Regions from separate parts of the Homo sapiens genome. Here region 2 is linked to region 1. The links are contacts of gene promoters, found by promoter capture Hi-C in blood cells and fetal thymus (Javierre and others, 2016). All regions are on one chromosome and are shown on one strand. Each heading gives the region's core, a stretch centred on a gene start or on the middle of the fragment in contact. The rest is flanking DNA. Distances are from core to core; before and after follow the strand shown. Region 1 holds the start of TWF1 (twinfilin actin binding protein 1). Region 2 overlaps SCAF11 (SR-related CTD associated factor 11).

Evidence for each region. The method cuts DNA at HindIII sites, captures the fragments that hold promoters and counts their contacts. A CHiCAGO score of 5 or more calls a contact.
Region 2: a fragment that was not itself captured here is called in contact with the fragment with the promoter of TWF1 in region 1 in 1 of 17 cell types (monocytes); the score reaches 7.5 in monocytes.

Annotation. Positions count from the first base shown.
Region 1 is chr12:43,804,422-43,808,078 of GRCh38, reverse strand. TWF1 (twinfilin actin binding protein 1) reads left to right here and starts at 1,762. Exons shown (of 9, transcript NM_002822.5): 1 at 1,762-1,858; 2 at 3,507-3,584. The coding sequence starts at 1,834. It also overlaps a transcript of TMEM117 not described here. RefSeq lists a silencer at 1,587-2,066. The HindIII fragment of the contact is 5,668 bases long and covers 1-2,917 here.
Region 2 is chr12:45,986,306-45,989,962 of GRCh38, reverse strand. The region is part of intron 1 of SCAF11 (SR-related CTD associated factor 11); the gene reads left to right. Among named protein-coding and RNA genes, the nearest start is that of SCAF11, 2.4 kb to the left of the region's middle. RefSeq lists an enhancer at 46-95 and silencers at 246-315, 3,211-3,260. The HindIII fragment of the contact is 7,512 bases long and covers 1-3,657 here.

The sequences.
Region 1 (3,657 bases), core at 513-3,012:
GAAACCTGCTGACTTCCCAACTCTGTGGTTCAATTTCCAAACCTCTTAAAGTTAAAAAACAAAACCTGCTATTTTTTTCAGCTCGTCACACAGGATGTTGGTACTCAAAATAAGTCTATTATATATTATTTGTAAACTGTAAACTACCATACAAATCTAAGGTATTATTCTCATGACAGCTCTGGCAAATGTTCACTAAATGGAGACACAATAGATGAAGAAAAGTGGGAAAATATTTGTGGCTAGAGCAGAGCAAGGTACCCAAGACGCTTGCAGCTTTTAAGTCAAACTATTGTACTGGCAGTAAATAAGCACTTTCTGGTGGCTGTCAGGGTGGTCCCAACCTAACTAGACATTCCTCTTCTTCAGGACTGAGAATACAGTGGCCTTTCCCAAGCACGAATATGGAAGGATTATATTTTGCTCAACTATACTTTTGAGCAACGCCAACTTCCTTAAGCAATTTCCCCGAAGCACTAGGACATGAATCAGTCAAAATACTGCAAGTCAACTCTGCAATTTTCTCTCTGCTCAGCAATGTAGTCAAAAACTGGTAAATCAGGGTGAACCATTGTGTCAGGAAGAATTTGATTAGAATGAAACTCCTCCCTACATTTCTTAAATCCATACAAGTCATAAAACTCAGATTTAGTTTATTCCTGAATATGAGAATATGTCTGAAAAACAGAGCTCAGATAACAGGCAATAGAACATAACCTTGTTTGCTGTGATTCTTGTAAAGAAAAACAATTGCAGGCCTGTTCATCACTCATGAAAAATACATCGTATAGTACTGGAACAGTGATTAACTTGCACTTATATTATTGACCTGAATAAATTATTTCTTCATTAGCAGATTATAATTTTGTGTATGTGTCACTTCAAGGCCCTAAAAATAAGAACTAGCTTCCCACCTAGTAGCAGTAGAGAAGCAGTACCAAAAAAAAACCAAACCCCCCACAAAACTAACATTACCTTTCAGGAAGGAACTACATGTTTGTAAAAGCAGGAAAGGAAAAGATTTTTAAGTAATATCTGCTGCTACCTTACAAATCTGTCCAAGTGAATTTTGAATAATTACTGGATTAAATAATAAACTGCCAACCTAAAGCAGAGCAGGATTTGCAATGGTATAATCGACCACAGAGGGATACTCAAATCAGCTAATCTCTTAGTGGCTGTCTCTTTCCGGAGTGAAGAGAAAGATACACTGAGTCTCTAAATGTGTCCAGCTGAAAAGAAAAGTTAACAGTCTGAGATTAACTTAATTTAAAATCGTGGAAAAATTTGATGAGAGGCAGTCTATATTAATTCTTTCAAAACAATGGAGCAAGGAGAAGGCTTTTCTACACTAAACGGTATCGATTATAGGAAGAGTAAACCAAGAAAAATAATGTGCACATCTTTTTTAAGCTGGAAAATGCCTATTTGGTAAAATGATCACTTCCGTTTTTGAGCACCCCTTTGCTGAGGCAGCGAATGGCGGCGTCGGCGGGGTTGTCAGAGAGCAGACGTCGGAGCACTGAGCAGTCTAGATTCTGCGGCATGTCCCCCCCGGAAGAAGCGGGAGAGGCGGCGGCAAGAGCAGAAGCAGGACCCCAAGCAGAGAACTAGGATAGCGAGGCCGGGGGCTGGACCGCAGCCCGGCGGCCAGGAAGGGCGGCGGGGCGGCGGGGACGCTCGGGCACTCAGTCAACCTCACGGGGCGGGGCGGCCGCGGGTCGCGGGCGGATGACGCGCCGGGGCCGGCGGAGGAGCAGCCACTTCCTGGGGCCGCCGGCCGGGGCCGCTGGCTGCACTCAGCGCCGGAGCCGGGAGCTAGCGGCCGCCGCCATGTCCCACCAGACCGGCATCCAAGGTAACAGCGCCCGGCGCGACTCGCAGGGAAGGGGCTTCCGGGAGAGCCGGGAGAGCCGGGAGGGCTGCAGGACCGGCAGGGCTGGAGTCGGGCCGGGAGCTCCGGAAGTCGGTCTCGCGGGGCGAGCCGGGCCTCGGCGCCTCTCCGCGCTCCTGCTTCCCGGGCGCTGCCGGCCTGCGTCCTCCTCCAGCCCGGTCCCTGCTGCCGTCACGTTGCAGATTGATCCGAAATTCGGGGGAGCGAAGGAAATTGGCTTTCGAGGCGGCCTGGTTGAAGGGGGCGTGCCTTCCACCGTCCCCGACAGTCGCCCAACTTTCCCCCTTTTGGTCACGTAGGGAAGAGCTGGGACAGTGGAGGCGACTGGGGCTTCAGTACGCTGTCGAGAACCAGGCGAGTTTTCTTTTTCATGGTCCAAAGGAGAATATTACAGGACTTTGATTACAAAAAGAACCATGCCAGAATCTTTCTCACATCAGTAGGGGTGCTTCCCAAAACTCTCCCGCATTTTCTCTCCAAATAGGAAAATGAGAGTTATGTTCTGAGAAATCTCGAGTGTAAGCGTGTGTTTTGATCTTTTTCCTAGATACTCCCCAAGGGAAACTGATCTGTATGGTTGCATGTAATGCGTGCAGACAGTTCAATATGCAGTTATATCTGACCTCCATTATTTCCTGGTTTGAAATTGGGCAGCCTGCAGGTACTCACCTCATCAAGAGTCAAATAATATATCCCCGGGTTACTCGCGATCACTTAACGAGTTCTAGTGTAAACTCAAGCTCTTACTGTTAATAGCGAGTCTTTCTCCCAGATGAACACTTAATTGTATGTTTTATTCGTAAAGATTTTTGACACCACCGCACACATCCCCCTGCACGCACGCAGAAGCAAAATAGTCTCAAATCTGAAAACTTTGTTTTATTTATCCGCATTAATTTCGATATATAAATATGTAGTTATTGACTCTCATGCTTGAGCCTTATAGCAAGCACTACCTACTTACATAGTGGTTCTTGCTGCTAATAGACAACACAGGAACGAAATTAGAACGAAATTGAAGCTTTAATAGGAACACAAGGGTTAGTTATTAAATACATATTTATTCAATGAGTTTAATCTAGCTTTTGAGAAATGCAAGTTAGAAAAATATAACCAGAGTTAAGACTGAATGCATTTTATTGTCTTTTTCTTTAAACAAGTTAGGATATTTGATATATACTGTTGTTTTTAACGGGAAAATACAGAAAGTGAATTGATGAAGGAGTGTCTGTCATAAGCTTGAAACTGAATTAGAGAATGAAAGCAGGTTTTCAATATTTTTCAAAAGAGCAAGAAAAGTTTTTCAAAATTGTAATTTGCTCATTATTGGGTTTGAGTAACTTCAGTATATTCACCCCAGTGTTATTTCTGCACAGAATTATGTAGCTAAAACAGATTAGAATTATTAACATACTTTTAAAATGCTAATATTTATATTTCTTAATTGTATACAGTCTTCGTTATTTTATGCGGTAAAGTTTTATAATACTGATAATAAGGATGCTACATGCTCCAGATTTTTTCTTTGTATTCTAATTAACTTTTCCAATATAGATAGGAAAGTATTTATATGTAAGTATAAAAAGTTTACTTTCTTTATCTTTTTCCACAGCAAGTGAAGATGTTAAAGAGATCTTTGCCAGAGCCAGAAATGGAAAGTACAGACTTCTGAAAATATCTATTGAAAATGGTTAGTTAAATATTTTAAAATATTTTCTGTTCCTGGATTAGTGGCTGTTGTATTTTTAAACTTACTGTGTGTT
Region 2 (3,657 bases), core at 714-3,213, 2.2 Mb before region 1:
CCAGAACCGCCACAGACACCCTCCTCCCTGCAGTGGAAACGTGTCCTGCTGAGCTTCCGGGCGCTCCCGACCGCGGTGTCGGCTTTTCTTGGGAGACTTTGGTCGCGAGCGTCCAAGCCCGCTAGTGAAACCAAACTTTACTACGCCGTGACCTCTCGAGTGCGCGAATGGGGAAGAGCCGGCGCTTCTAAGCATCAGCCTTTTTCACTCCTTGATCTGAACTTCAAACTACTCATCCACCCCCAGTGTTTTAAATTCGCTACCTGGGCTGACAACTACGGGGCCGGGAGATATAAATTTAGCCTAATCAGTCGCCCCTTCTGAGACCTAGGAATTTTGAACCATTAAAAAGATTTCCTACAGATGGCTGGCGGTCTTGCCACCAACACGTATTTTGAAGTATTGTTTCAAAAGTAGACGCCTGATTTAGAGTACTTGATTTAGACATTCACGGATTCAAATGTTGAATTTTGAAATACTTCCAATATATTTCCGTATTGTATTACATACAGTGTCTACCAGCTGACTGTTGTTCATTCATTTTGGATTACATTTTGGCTAACATGCTACCACTGACCTAAGATACTTAAGCAAAACTGCTGAAAAATGTTTTTAATGCTTTGTGTAGTAGATGCTGATGTTAAATTTTTTTCTCCGATTTGGGAATTTTCCCCGAATTTTGGGAAAAGCATATTAATAAATGCATTATTTTTTCGTTTTAAAAGAAAAATTAATTTCTACATATCACCACCTACCTCAGCAGCAGAATATCAGGGCAGTACATTTTAAAATAACGGTTGGTTTTTGTATTTTATTAGTAATTGTATTAAAATTTTGACATGTAATCAAGTCTGTTTCTAAACAATTGCTTTCTCTTTCCTGTTTCTTTGGCAGTTGGCTTGATCATGTCACTATTTTGGTTAAAAGATGCAAGAAAAAGTTCATGGGCCTTTTGTTTTTGTTGTTTTAACTAAGCAAGAGAAATGAAATCTTGAAACTGTCTTTGGATTTCTTTTGTTTTATATTATCCTATCGGATAATCTGAATTTATATTTTTTATGCAATGTGAGTTTTTTAAAAACAGTTCTTAGGGTAGCTGCATTTTAGCTATAATATTTTTTGGTGCTTGCAGATATTTTAACAGTCATTCAGTTTTTCACATTCAGATAGTGAACTTTTTGCCTGAGAGTTTGAGTACATTTTAAGATTTCACTGGGGTAAAATTTGAATGTTTGCTTACTGTAAGTATACTCATGCTTTAAAGACATTCTTCAGTATAAAGGGGAAGAAAACTGTAGAAGAAAATTTAAAGTTTCTAAATATGTTGCCAGAAAACATGTCATGGAGAAAATTTTACGGATAATTTTTTAATTTTTTCTGTTAATACCTTCATGTGGTAATAGGGCTAGTGTGTTAAGATCGAAACTTTTCAGGAGTTACTTAGCTCTCTATCGTCCTTTGGCACCAACTAGAGCTTAGACAGTTTTCTGGAAAACCTGTGCTTTTATTCAGCAGAGATAGGATGAATCAGTGCAGTTACATGATACTGTTGATTCATCATCAGTAACATCTTTTAGTAATCAGAAAATACAGTACTATACTACCCATCAACTTAATACTGAACTTTTAAAGTATATCAGAGATAGTTGTAGCACCTTAATTAAAGAGAGTAGCAGGCATAAAAGTAATAAAAAGAAAGTCAACTGTAGAATAATTTTCATTGTAACTTCCCTTTAGCAAGCCCTGCTATCACCTGCTTTTGTCTTTTAAGATGTAAATTGTACCTTGACTTACCTTGCCCAGTGAAATAAACTTAAAATCCAGATTTTTAATTATACTCTGTCCCCCAAAATAAGTTAATAACCTTGCACCTTGTCTTGCTTCTGAGCAGTAATAACTGTTAGTAGTGCTGAGTAGAGCCCAGAGTTAAAATATCCAGTATCATTCTCTTGCTATTCCCAAAACTCATCTTTGCATTGTATTTTTTTAAGTTGTGTCTATGAACTTAATGTATGAAATCCTAGTACATAGACACATAAAAATTCAATACATAACGTAAAAACACAACCACTATTTTGCTTTCAAAAATATCTTCCTAAAAAGTCACTGTGACCTTTGCTGATCTACAGTCTTTAACACTCCATAGCCAGAGTGATCCTGATAAAATGTCAGGTCATGTAACTTCTTTTCTCAAATGGCTTCCCTTCTCAGTCATAGTAAATTCCATACTCCTATGGTCTACAAGGCTCTATGATTTAAGTCTCTTCTTCCTCTCTGACTTCATCTCCTCACCCTTTCTCCAATCTCCTTTCCCCTACGCTGTTGTGGTCTTCTCTAACTACTGTGTATAAAACAACAGCCTTCCCCCGATATTTTGTATCTGTTTTTATGCTAGATTTTTCTCCATTGCATTTATCATTTTGCAACATATTGTGTAATCTAACTTAGGTTTATTGTTTATTTTCTTCACTGTGATTTATCTTCTGTGAGATCAGCATTTGTCAGTATTTGTCACCTAAACACCTGAACAATGCCTTCAGTGTAAGTTAATGAATTAACCTGCTTTCAGCTGTAAACGTTACAAATAGTGATTGTGGTTTGAAACTTTAGACTAAGCAAGTCTCAGTCTGTAGCATAAACTGCCAAGTTACTTATATCCATGCATGTGGGCCATGTTCATTTCAGGGGTCCTTGTTTTTTGTTGTTGTTTGTTTTGTTTTTGCTTTCAGATAGCATCTCGCTGTCTCCCAGGCTGGAGCGCAGTGGTGTGATCACAGCTCTCACTTTGGTGCCCAGGCTGGTCTCAAATTCCTGGGCTAAGTAATCATCCCGCCTTGGCCTCCCAAAGTGCTGGGATTACAGGAATGAACCACCACACCCAGCCTAAGGGGTCTGTGTTTTTAGAGGAGTATAACAGTATGTGACCTTGAAACTATCATTTGTCTTAATATAGAAGGAGCTAAGAATGCCTCAGCTAAGAGTAGAGCAGTGCATTAGCCTGATTTCATGCTGCTGACATACCTGAGACTGGGAAGAAAAAGAGGTATAATTGGACTTACAGTTCCACATGGCTAGGGAGGCCTCAGAATCTTGGTGGGAGGAGAAGGGCACTTCTTACATAGTGGTTGGTGGCAAGAGAAAATGAGGAAGATGCAAAAGCGGAAACATCTGTTAAAACCATCAGATCTTGTGAGACTTGTTCACTACCATGAGAACAGTATGGGGGAAACTGCCCCCATGATTCAAATTATCTCCCAACAGGTTGCTCCCACAACACGTGGGAATTATGGGAATACAATTCAAGAGAGATTTGGGTGGGGACACAGCCAAACCATATCAAGCAGTATAACTATCTTATTGTTAAAAATGTTGTCATTTAGAAGCCATATTAATTTCTTATAGTTCCAGAAGGCAAAACTAGGATTGTGGTGATGTGTATTGAAAGGGAGGAGAGAGGCAGCAAGAGATCTGGGAGAATTAGTTAGCAGGCTTTTTTAGTAGTCTGGGAGAGATGAGGATAGCTTGAATTAGGATGATAATTGTGGAGATGGGCTCAGTGGATGGGATTTGAGACCAGCAGGCCTTAGTTAATAGATTGAAAGTGAGGGAGAAAGAAATTTGAAAGATGATTTCTGGATTACATTCCTGGGTTGTGCC